Linked DNA regions of Homo sapiens: all the other regions are linked to region 2. Evidence: promoter capture Hi-C in human tissues and cell types (Jung and others, 2019). All regions are on one chromosome and are shown on one strand. Each heading gives the region's core, a stretch centred on a gene start or on the middle of the fragment in contact. The rest is flanking DNA. Distances are from core to core; before and after follow the strand shown.

Region 1 (4,179 bases), core at 457-2,956, 45 kb after region 2:
GATATTATGGTCTGTATTCTGGATCCAGATGAACTAGGATTCAAATTATGATTCTGCCACTTGCTGTCTACGTGATCTCGAGCAATTCACTTAACATCTCTGTGCCTGCGTTGCCCCATCTGTCAACTCAGGTAATAGGATTGTGGCATGGAGACAATGAGTTAATATGAATGAAGTGCTTAGCACCATGGCTGACACCTAGTAAGCATTATGTAAGTGTTTACTTTTGACTTTTATTAATAGAATGAATCCATGAATGAGCTATTTCAAAACCAGAAGAGGTCCAGAGAGGGTTTCACAAAGAACCAGGGAGACACCTCATGTGAGATGACCTGCACACAACCATCTACCTTTGCTTTGTTCATGAAGTACGTCCACCTTCCCAACCAGGGGATCTCATTTGGGTAGGCTTGCTGCCTGGTGTATGAAGCACCTCTGTTGGGCAGAACTTGTACCAAGCTACCTGAGAGACGCTTAGGAAGCTTCCTCATGCCAGATCTGCATGTGAGGATTTTGGCTTCCACATGGCTCTCTGGTGAAATGCATTAGGGCTATGCAGGCTGTTACATTCTGGCTTTTTATTAGTTTAACACGCTGACACCAACACGCTGCTAGTATATGATACTATTATCTAAGCATTGAAATTGGTGCAGACCATTGCTTAATCAGACCAACTTCTCATTTCCATCTCCCAATCCCAGTTTCCATTCTCTATATCAACTTCCAAAAACTCACTGCTAGCTCCTGGCTTTGATGACCCATTTTGGACACTTCTCTAGCCTGATATGTATTTGAAGAACAGGTGAGTTATCTGGTTTTTTTGTTTTTTTGTTTTTGTGAGAAGGAGTTTCACTCTTGTTGCCCAGGCTGGAGTGCAGTGGCGCGATCTCGGTTCACTGCAACCTACGCCTCCCAGGTTCAAGTGATTCTCCTGCCTCAGCCTTCTGAGTAGCTGGGATTACAGATGCCCACCACCACGCCCAGCTAATTTTTTGTATTTTTAGTAGAACAATTTGTTCACCATTGTTGGCCAGGCTATTCGTGAACTCCTGACCGCCACCGTGCCCTGCTTTTTTTTTTTTTTTTTTGAGACAGGGTCTTGCTTTGTCACCCAGAGTAGAGTACAGTGGTACCATCATGGCTCACTGCAACTTTGAACTCCTGGGCTTAAACAATCCTCCTGCCTCAGCCTCCTGGGTAGCTGGCCCTATGGGCATGTGCTACCATGCCTGGCTAATTTAAAAATGTTTTTGTAGAGACACGATCTTGCTATGTTGCCCAGGCTAGTCTCAAACTCCTGGACTCAAACAATCCTCCCGCCTTGGCCTACCAAAGCTCTGGGGTTTCAGATGTGAGCAACTGTGCCTGGCCTGTCTGGAAGGAACCATTCATTGCTGGGCTGGGATTAGCTCTCATTTTCCAAGTGATTCACCTGCGTGTGTCTGAACAGAAACAGTGATGTTCAAAAAATCTACAGAAACATTATGTACACAAGACCGAGGACTAGGAAAATTTTTCAGTACTCTCCAAGCCTAAATACCTCTCTTAAACTAACAAATAAGCTATGAAAGCAAGGTATGCACCTTGTATAAAATGTATAAAATATGGGAAACATAATGAAATGAATAAGAATCTTTTTTTTTTTTCTGGAGACAGAGTCTCACTCTGTCACCCAGGCTGAAATGAAGTGGCACAATCTTGGCTCACTAAAGCCTCCAACTCCTGGTCTCAAGAGATCTCTTGCTTCAGCCTCCTGAATAGCTGGAACTACAGGTGCATGCCATCACAATTGACTTTTTTTTTTTTTTGTAGAGGTGAGGTCTTGCTATGTTGCCCAGTCTGGGTCTTGAACTCCTGGCTTCAAGCCATCCTCCTGCCTCACCCTCTCAAAGTGCTGGGATTATGGCCACAAGCCACCATGGCCAGCCTTATTTTTTGTTTTACTATCCAGAGATACTTATTCTGAACTTGATCTTGATTTCACTCTAACCATTTCCACATTCATTCCCCCACCATGCCTCTGTGTGTGTGTGTGTATGTGTGCATGCATATACACAACTATACATATTTCCCTTCTCCCAATATACTGAAGCCCAAATACTTCTAACTCAGGCCAATAGGGAGTTATATTTCTTTGTGAAATTAGCTCTCTGATTTTTATTTATTTTATTTATGCATTATTAATTTTTTTAGAGACAGAGTCTTGCTCTGTTGCTCACGCTGGAGTGCAGTGGTGTGATCTTGGCTCACTGCAACCTCCTCCTCCTGGGTTCAAGCAATTCTCCTGCCTCAGCCTGCTGAGTAGCTGGGACTACAGGGGCCCACCACCACGCCCAGCTAATTTTTTGTATTTTAATAGAGATGGGGTTTCTCCATGTTGCCCAGGTTGGTCTCGAGCTCCTGAGCTCAGGCAATCCACCCGGCTTGGCCTCCCAAAGTGCTAGGATTACAGGCATGAACCACCACACCTGGCAGCTCTCTTGATTTTTATAATAAAGAACACTTTATAGAAATTCCTTTTTGCAACTTTGCTGGGGCCACCTGTTCTATATACTGATTCATGCAATGTAGGGAGCAGAATTCTGCTTTTGGGCGAAATCGAGTGAAATTGCAGAATGGATGAAGAAGGAGCACCTTCTAAAACTTCTAGCCTTTTTTCTTTTCTTTTCTTTCTTTTTTTTTTTTTTGGCATTACATGGAGATGCCCTTCGCTGTGAAATCTTGGCAGGTAATTATCAGAGACCCCTTTTTAGGTTCCCCGATGTCTTCCCTTCTGGGACACCAGGTTCTACTTTTAGTAGGTGCCCCTCTTTCTCTTGGAGATAATCACATCAATTGGTCTCTCATTCCAGGGGGATATGACCTAGAATCTGTTTTGTCTTTGAGAAATGAGGTCGCTTTTCTGGTGGAGGTGTCAGGAGATGGTGGGAAGCCCCAGGCTGGGAGAGGAGGTGCTTCCTGGTTCTTCCCTGTCATCTCCTGCAAAGGCAGTGACCTTGCTGGTCAGTGAGTGACAAGGACCTGTGTCTATGGCTGTACCCCTGGTCAGTCCCTCAAAATGACTCAGGCAGGCCAGGCACGGTGGCTTATGCCTGTAATCCCAGCACTTTGGGAGGCTGAGGTAGGCAGATCAGTTGAGGCCAGGAGTTCGAGACCAGCCTGGCCAACATGGTGAAACCCCATCTGTACAAAAATGCAAAAATTAGCTGGGCGTGGTGGCACATGCCTGTAATCCCAGCTACTCAAGAGGCTGAGTCATGAGAATCGCTTGAACCCGGGGGGCGGAGGTTGCAGTGAGCTGAGATTGTGCCACTGTGCTCTAGCCTGGGTGAGACAGAGACTCTATTACAAAAAACAAAATAACAACAACAACAACAACAACATCCCACAAAAAACAAAAAGACAAAAATGAAAAACACAAACCGAAAACAAACAAACAAACAAACAAACAAACAAAAATAATGGCTCAGGCATCCATCATCAACGTCTTCCTGCAATGGACAAATTCCAGTTTCTTTTCTATCCTGCTCAACTTGACCTCCTGGTAGCTTTGAAATTGTCAGCCCTCTGTGACTTGAATCCCCTCCCCTGTGCTCTTTCACATGTTTTCTTTTTCACCTCTACTCTGTGTTCTTTACTAGCTGGTTGTCCGCCATCCACCCCTCAAATATGATGGATTTCTTTTTCAGCTGGGTTAGGCATCTTCAGATGGCCCTGAATGGTCCTCACCTCCTGATCCTCATGCCCTGTGTAATCCCTTGAGTGTGGGCTGGACCTGATGTGTCACTTGTAACCAACAGCCTATGGCAAACATGATAGATGCTGCTTCTGAGATTAGGTTACAAAGCGATCATGGCTTCTGTTCTGCTCTCTCTTGCTTGCTCTTTCACTTGCTCACTCTGAAGAAATCCAAGCCAGGCATGGTGGCTCATGCCTATAATTCCAGCACTTTGGGAGGCTGAGGTAGGAGGATTGCTTGAAGCCAGGAGTTTGAGGCTAGCCTGGGCAACATAGCAAGACCCTGTTTCTTAAAAACAAAAAACAAAACAAAACAAAAAACCCAACCCAAACCAAACCAAACAAAACAAAAAACAGCTGGATGTGGTGGTGCATATCTGGAATCTGAGCTACTCAAGAGGCTGGGGTGGGAGGATCGCTTGAGCCCAGGAGATGGAGGCT
Region 2 (4,452 bases), core at 1,868-4,367:
ACCCCAGTGGTAAGAACTTCATCTTTTAAAAAATCAACATGAAATTGTTTATTGCAGGACTTCTCAGAACCTTTAATGTGTTGAGAAGAACTTGATCTTTGGAGACAGAGGTAGCTGTGTTTGACTGCCCCCACCACCCAACCCAACTTCGGTTCCATCTCTGAGTCTTTTTTTGCTGTTTGATTGACTACAAAGTACCTCCTAGCTCTGAGTTCAGATCATGATTTTTTCAGTCCCTCCACTCTTTCCAAAACATTAAAATCCTCACCTTCCTTCTCCCCAGATGATCACCCTCCCCTCAACCTGCACCCAGCCTACCTCTTCCAAAGACCGCGGATTGCTCATTTCTCCTTTGGTTGTGAGTCCCGGCTCTCAGCACCCTTGTCTGATCCTTGGAGTCAAGAGAAGATAGGTTAAAGTTCTCTAAAGGGAGGCCGAGGGGCTCAGGGGACAAACTGGCTTATGTATCTGGATTTTTGAGACCAAATAGCACTCAAGTGGTGGGGATTTGGTCTGTGGACAGATCTGGGCAATAGATGATAATCCATGAAGTAGTAATATATCACCCCTAGAATGACAATTTCACGATGTCTTCCATTTCTGGATGTCTTCTTCAGAACTGCTGAGCCTACCCCACAATGTCCCCCACTCCGCCCCCAAAAACTTCCTGTGTCTCCCGTGGGTCATTCACCAGCTTCTGGTGGACTGAACTTCCCCTGAAAGCCCTGGAATGAGGAGCAGGGCAAGTGACCCATGTGTTTGCCTCTTCTACCTAGGAGATGACGGGCTGGGGAAGCCATCTCAAAGAGATGCCTTGGAGGAGTGTTTAAAAGGAGAATGTCATCGAAGTGGGGAATGCAACTTTGATATTATCTCACTGGGTCTCCAATACGAAGGGGTCAATCCACCTCCCTTGCTCTTCCTTGAGTCTGAATGTCTGTCCACATTCTCCATTCTCATCTCTGAGTCCTGTTCTCTTCTCTGGCTGCACAGACAGACTTTTGTCATACTCTTGGCATTTCCCCATCTCTTTGCCTTTTCCTACACTTTCTCCTCAGTAGGGAATGCTTTTTGCTTTTTTTTTTTTTTTTTTTGAGACAGAATCTCACTCTGTCACCCAGGCTGTCTGGGGTGCAGTGGCATGATCTCGGCTCACTGCAACCTCTGCCTCCTGGGTTCAAGTGATGATCCTGCCTCAGCCTCCCGAGTAGCTGGGACTACAGGTATGCGCCACCATGCCTGGCTAATTTTATTGTATTTTTAGTAGAGACGGGATTTCACTGTGTTAGCCAGGATGGTCTTGATCTCCTGACCTCATGATCTGCCCACCTCAGCCTCCCAAAGTGCTGGGATTATAGATGTGAGCCACTGCACCCCACCGGGAATGCTTTTTTTTTTTCTATCTAGATCCTTCTCTGACAATTTTGGTGGCATAATATCTGCTATGCCTTCCCCCATCAACCATCCATTCATCTATGTTTTTATCCATCTATCTATCCAGTCACCCATCAATTCATTCATCTATCCATCTACCATCTATCCATTAATTCATCATCTATCCATCCATTCACCCACTCACCCTTCCATCTATTCATCTGTCCATCTACTTATCTATTAATCAGTCATCCCATCCACCCATCCTTCCACCCGCACATCTATCTAGTCATCCATCAATCCAATTTAACATCCATCCTTTTATTCATCAACCCATCCACCAATTTATCTTTCCACTTACCTATCTATCCACTCATCCATCCATCCATCCACCCACTCACACATCTATTCATCCGTCTGTCTACCCATCTATTAATCAGTCATCCCATATACCCATTCATTCTTCCATCAACCCATTTATCTACCCATCCATCTATCTATCCATCCACTTATTCATCCAACCACTCATTCATTCATCCATCCATCCATCCATTCATCCATTATCTCTCTCTGTCTTCCATCCCTCCATCTATTCTATCTTCCAACTATCCCTCCATCTAGCCCTCCTTCTATCCATTCCTTCATCCATCATCTCTATCTTCCATCTATCCATCCACCTATTTACTTATCCATCTACCCACCCACCCATCCATCCATCCATCCATCAATCCATCCACCCACCCACCCACCTACCCAGCAAATATTTTCTGGGTATCTATTATGTGTTATGCACTTAGAATCCATTAAGTAAGACAGACATGCTCCCTGACTTTCTGTCCTTCTGTAGCTCTAGTCTGTGACAGAAATGAATATTAAATCTCTCTCTCTCTCTCTCTCTCTCACACACACACACTCACACACACACACAGCAAGTGCTGTGACGAAAGAGGAGCCAAAGATTGTGAGGGAGGAAGTGGAAGGAGCATAGCCCTGGAGCCAGAACCGAATCCTGCCTCAGTCCCTTCCCAGCTGTGTGACCTTCGGCATCTCACTCTCCTCTCTGAGACTCGATTTTCCCATCCGCAAAGGACCTGGGGAGAGCTCTAGGTGCTTAACAGCAATGGTGACCCAGGTAGGTTTTAGGATCCCTCTTGACCTCCTGGAACTTTCCTCTTCCTTCTCTGGACTCTCACAGCTCTGCTTGCTCCTACTTGAATTACAGCAGTGTTTTTGATTCTTACTCTCATGGCTGAACTGGCAGCTCAGTTTTCAGGACTGAAAGCCTGACTTCATTATCTCTGTCTCCATCATGGCCAACAGTGTGGCAGGGAGCACAGAGGTGGTGTTGGAGAGAATTTGCTGAGTAAACAAATAAGAAAAAAATGAACAGATGAAAAGAAAGAGGGGATGGATGGAAATTTCTTCCATTCTGCCAAAACTGGCCAGAGCATTAATTCATGAAGGGAGAGGGAGCGTATGTGTGTATGTGCGTGTGTGTGTGTGTGTGTGTGTGTGTGTGTGTGTGAGAGAGAGAGAGAGAGAGAGAGAGAGAGGCTAATATCCACCAAATCACTTACCAACTCTAGAGGCAGCTGTTCCTCAAGGCCAAGTTCAATCTCACTACTCTCCTAGTTGCCAATACTGAGCTGGGCACCGAGGAGGAGTCAGGCCCACGTACTGATCTTGGAGAAGGGGCTGACAGTGTGGAATCTCCCGGGGTTTCTCCTGAGAAGCCTGGTCTATGAATCGGGTGGCACAATCACCTGGCCCTTTATTGTCGGTGAGTTTTCTGTCACTCAAGAAACCTCATGACACACCCTTGGCACACAGCTGTGGTGTGGAAATGGAGCCAACGCCAATGGGATGAGTGATCGCAAGGCTGAGGGGACTCCCTCTGGCAAAGGTGGCCTAGGCAGAGAGTCTAAATGAGTCAGATGTCTGTGCCAGCCCAGCCACAACCTCTCCCAACCCCCATCCCATAGCCAGCCCATCTGGTTATTACCATCATCATTATGCCTAGTTTATTCATCTCACCTTCCACTGTGTAGATAACACCGACTTCACTTAGTTATTATCTCATCGAGTCTTCAAGAGTCTAGACAGATCAGTATTTTTGCTCCCATTTTGCAGATGGAGAAACTGAGGCTCATAGAGGTGAAATGACTGCCCAAGGTCAGCAATTGGCACAGTTGGCATTCAACCCTATAAGGGGTGAGGTGTGGTGGGTCACGTCTGTAGTCCCAGCGCTTTGGGAGGCCAAGGCAGGAGGATCGCTTGAGGTGAGGAGTTTGAGACCAGCCGGGGCATAGTGAGACCCTGTCACTAAAATAATAATAATAATAAAAATGATGGCATATACCTATAGTCCTAGCTACTCAGGAGGCTGAGGTAGGAGGCTGGCTTGAGCCTAGGAGTTTGAGGCTGCAGCGAGCTAAGATTGTGCCTCTGCACTCCAGCCTGGGTGACAGAGCAAGACTCTGTCTTAAATATAAAAACAAACAAACAACCCCTAAAATGTTCCAGCCCAGTTGCCTTAACTGATGCATCATGATGATTCCTCTCTTCCTCCTCCTCTTATTATTTTTCAGCCATTTTGTTTCATTTTATTTCTTATGTTAATAGTGAAACCAAAGGCGAACCTGATTAAGCCCTCCAGACTTAATCTGCCTTGCGTTTAATTGCTTACTTACTTTTAATTGCTTACTTATAGTTGATCTTAAAAGCGCCACTAGCAAGTCACGTAGCCAAATAATGCATAACTAAACTCCCACTGGCTTCCTTACAGATAACATTTTTGTCTGTGGGACACTATAGTAATGGGTGCTTAAAGTTGTTTTTCAGGAACTAGGTAGGAGGCAGCTCTTGTTTAGTTTAAGCCAGTGGAGATCACTGACCCTTCAACTGCACCTATGTGGGTAGCTGATATCAGAGGGCCGTAAACTCCACCTTCAGATCATGCTAAATGCTATTTTTTGCACAAATGTCCTATCTAAAGCCATGTAGCTCAACCATGCTTGCTCAGAAATTCTGATTACCTCACCTTCCCTACCTGCCAGTCACCTTTCTCCGTACTTTAGA
Region 3 (4,201 bases), core at 493-2,992, 54 kb before region 2:
TAGCCCTACATTTCATTCTCCATATATTACCCACAGTGGACTTAAAACTGAAATCAGATTGTGGCACCATCCTGCTGAATAGTGTTCCTATGACTGCTCACCTCACCTAGAATAAAATTCAGATTCCCAGCATGGTCTCACAAGACTTCCAGCCTCATCTCTTTGGCTGTCCCATTCACTCACCATGGCCTCCTTTCTGGTTCTCCTTCATATCAAGCTATTTCTGCCTCAGGTCCTTTGCACACATGGTTCCTTCTGCCTGGGAAGCCCTGGTTCTTCTGAGGCCACCTCTCTCTCATCCTTTAGGTCCAATGGCACCTTCTAGGGAGACCCTTTCTGTCCACCACCTCTGTCTAGTCAGTATCACATTACTCAGTTTCCTTTCTTCTAACACTTGCCACAACTTGAATTTAACAGTCCCAGTGGTTTGTTCTAGTTTATCTGCCTCCTCGTCCAGACTGGGTCTCCACCAAGTGATCAAGTGATGCTTGTCTATGTTGTTCACTGCTGAATATTCAGGTAGGAGATCAGGTGTCAGGTGATGGAGGTCTGTATAGGAGGGGGTGTCCAAGAGGCCTGGACGAGGAGGCTGTGTGTGTTTGGTTTTAATGTGTCTTTGTGTGGTTCTCTGTGTTTATTGTACTTGGAGTTTGTTGAGCTTTGTGGATATGTAGATTCATGTCTTTCATCAATTCTGGGCTTCTGGGAAGTTTTTTGGCCATTATTTCATCAAATATTATTATTATTATTTTTTGAGATGGAGTCTCACTCTGTTGCCCAGGCTGGAGTGCAGAGGCATGGTCTTGGCTCACTGCAACCTCTGCTTTCTGGGTTCAAGTGATTCTCCTGCCTCAACCTCTCAAGTAGGTGGGGTTACAGGTGCCTGTCACCATGCCCAGCTAATTTTTGTATTTTTAGTAGAGATGGGTTTTCGTCATGTTGGCCAGGCCGGTCTCAAATTTCTGACCTTAAGTGATCTGCCCACCTTGGCCTCCCAAAGTGCTGGGATTATAGGCATGAACCACCATACCCAGCCTCATCAAATATTCTTTCTGCTCCTTTCACTTCTCTCCTTCTGGGACTCTCATTATGCATATATTGGTATACTCATTATACAACTGTTGATATACAGTTCTCCTAGGTGCTGTTCACTTTTCTTGGATATGTGTGTTTGGGGGGCATCAGTCTGTAAAAGGGTGGAGTGCACCCTCCTCCCTATGAGATCCCTGCGCAGATGTCTTTGAGGCAGCTATTGACAATGGGGAAAGAAGTCAGGGGTCAAGACAATACCTGTTTACAAGTTGAGGGTAGAGGCTGCAGGACTAAGGTCCCAATGGGGTATTTCAGAGTCTCAGAGGAGCTGGGGTCTGACATGGGAGTGAGAGCAACCCTTAGCCCCACCCATATGACACCCACATACCACATAAATATTTATTATTATTATTTTGTGTAAATCTTTTTGAGTTTTTGTACTTTTCCTGTTGTCTTTATTTGCCTGCATGTAGCCTATTTAATTCACCATTGGCTCTGATTCTTTCTTAGCAATCAGAAATTTCCATAAGTGAGAACAGATTATCTGCAAATTGTATGTAATGAAATGGTTATGAATTCTAAGTTTCATAATGATGTTTGTATGCTTATTCCTGTGGATTTTGCTAGTTGCTGTACAGATTTTAGAGCCTGTATGCGTACATTTTCTTTTCTTTTCTTTTATAGAGACATAGTCTTGCTTTGTTGCCCAGGCTGGAGTGCAGTGGCACGATCTTGGCTTACTGCAACCTGTGACTCCCTGGTTTAAGCGATGCTGCTGCCTCAGCCTCCTGAGTAGCTGGGATTACAGGCACACACCACCACGTGCAGCTAATTTTTATATTTTTAGTAGAGATGGGGTTTCACCATGTTGGCCAGGATGGTCTCGATTTCCTGACCTTGTGATCCATCCACCTTGGCCTCCCAAAGAGCTGAGATTACAGGGGTCAGCCACCGTGCCTGGCCCATTTTCTTTTCTTTTAAAAAAATTTATTTTCATGGCCGGGCACTGTGGCTCATGCCTGTAATCCCAGCACTTTGGGAGGCTGAGGCGGGTGGATCACGAGGTCAGGAGTTCAAGACTAGCCTGGCCAAGATGGTGAAACCCCGTTTCTACTAAAAATATAAAAATTAGCTAGGCATGGTGGCAGGCACCTGTAATCCCAGCTACTCGGGAGGCTGAGGCAGGGGAATCGCTTGAACCCAGAGGGTAGAGGTTGGAGTGAGCCAAGATCGTGCCACTGCACTCCAGCCTGGGTGACTAAGACTCTGTCTCAAATTTTTTAAAAATTATTTTCATGTTATTTTTATTTACTTTATTATTATTATTTTATTTATTTTTCTTGCTCTGTTGCTCAGGCTGTAGTGCAGTGGCACTACCACAACTCACTGCACCCTCAACCTCCTAGGCTCAAGTGATGTTCCTGCCTCAGCCTCCCAAGCAACTGGAACTACAGGCATGTGCCACCATGCCACAGGCTGATTTTTCTATTTTTTTGTGGAGATAGGGTCTCATCATGTTGCCTAGACTGTTCTCAAACTTCTGGGCTCAAGTGATCTTCCCACTTTGGCCCCCCAAGTGGCTGGGATTACAGGTGTGAGCCACCGTGCTTGGCCTTATTATTTTTAGAGACATAATCTCCCTCTGTCACCCAAGCTGGTGTGCATTGGTGTGATCATAGCTCACTGCAGACTTGAACTTCTGGGTTCAAGCAATCCTCTTGCCTCAGCCTCCTGAGTGGCTAGGCCTATAGGCATGCACTGCCATACCCAGCTAGCTTTTAAATTTTTTTTGTAGAGACAGGATCTTGCTATGTTGCCCAGGCTGGTCTCAAACTCCTGACCTCAAGCGATCCTTCTTCCTTGGCCTCTCAAAGTGCTGGGATTACAGGTGTGAGCCACTGCACCTGGCCACGTGTGTGTTTTCTTTCCCCTAAATGTTCTCATTGGCTGCAGGTCTGATGTGCTGTGCTTTTGGTACCTGGTGGATTAACCAGCCCCAGACACATATAGACCAATTAGTTGAAAGACCAAAAGACCATTTCCTGTCAGTTTTGGGCAGAGCTCAGCACCTCTGTGGTAGTCAAGGGGAATTGATGGATAAATACCCCAGCTCCCTCACCCTTGTGTTGGATGATTGAGGTTCATGTTCTACACTGACCCCTAGTGTTCACCCACGGGATTGAGCTCCAGCTGTCCACTGTAGAAACCTGGTTATCAATACACTCTTTGCTGACTTCCTTCCCTTCCCTCTCCCACATATCCACCCCACTTACAGTATTTCCTGTTTATTTCCTAAATACTTGAATCCTTGTCTCAAGGTTGGCTTCTGGTGGACTCCAAACACAGACATTCTGTCTAGGCCTCTGTTTCATGTGCAAAGGGAATAATAAATTAGGCTGTTTTCAAGGCTATGGGCATGGGGCGTGGTTCTGTGGGGCTACATCTCCATTCTACCAGCTCCCTGGGGTGCTCAGTTCCTGGGGGATGGGAGATAGAGAAGGTTTTGGGGAGCAGGACCCAAGCTTCCTCCACCCGCTGTGGTCATTCCCATTTGTTTCCACACCTGAGGCTTGCGTCTATCTGGCATCTTCCAGGAGAAGAAGGTGAATACCTCAGCCTGCCTAGGCCTCCCTGGCTGGAAGTCAGACCTCAGAGGAACCAGCAAAGGGGTGGCTGCCCAGAGATATCCATCACAGTAGCATTCAGGAGCTGGAGGGAGAGGGGATGATTGTATATAATGAAATGGTTATGAATTCTGTTAGCATAAAGCAGCTTCCTGAGGCAGGGCACAGTCTCACCTGGGTGACAGTCAGTGGTACAGCATTGCTTGACCAGAGCCTCCCATTGACCCTTGGAAAAATCTGGCCAGACAGCTATAGAGCTGAAACTGAGGTGCAGGAGGGGTCCATAGTTGCTCCATGCCACCTCCAGAGTGGTCTCTGTTTATCAGCTGCAAGGCTGTGGAGCTTTCCTGCTGGCTAGGCCCCTGCACAGCCTCAGGGATAGACTCAGCAACTGGCCACTGCAGCCATGCCAAGAGCTCTCCAAGCTGGACATGGTGGTTCACACCTGTAGTCTCAGCTATTCTGGAGACTGAGGCAGGAGGATCACTTGAGCCCAGGAGTTTGAGGCTTCAATGAGCTATGACTGCACCACTGCCTCTAGCCTG

The links. Contacts are between HindIII fragments. The study calls those that stand out against the background at their distance.
Region 1: a fragment that was not itself captured here is called in contact with the fragment with the promoter of CASP14 in region 2 in 3 of the 25 tissues and cell types used here (mesendoderm cells, pancreas and stomach).
Region 3: a fragment that was not itself captured here is called in contact with the fragment with the promoter of CASP14 in region 2 in 5 of the 25 tissues and cell types used here (H1 embryonic stem cells, adrenal gland, bladder and 2 more).

Annotation. Positions count from the first base shown.
Region 1 is chr19:15,002,169-15,006,347 of GRCh38, reverse strand. It overlaps a transcript of SLC1A6 not described here. Among named protein-coding and RNA genes, the nearest start is that of TEKTL1, 6.5 kb to the left of the region's middle. The HindIII fragment of the contact is 9,530 bases long and covers 1-4,179 here.
Region 2 is chr19:15,048,145-15,052,596 of GRCh38, reverse strand. It overlaps CASP14 (caspase 14), which reads right to left and starts at 3,117. Exons shown (of 7, transcript NM_012114.3): 1 at 2,952-3,117; 2 at 319-391. The coding sequence starts at 345. The HindIII fragment of the contact is 29,360 bases long and covers 1-4,452 here.
Region 3 is chr19:15,100,665-15,104,865 of GRCh38, reverse strand. No RefSeq gene overlaps it. Among named protein-coding and RNA genes, the nearest start is that of SYDE1, 4.6 kb to the left of the region's middle. The HindIII fragment of the contact is 6,045 bases long and covers 1-4,201 here.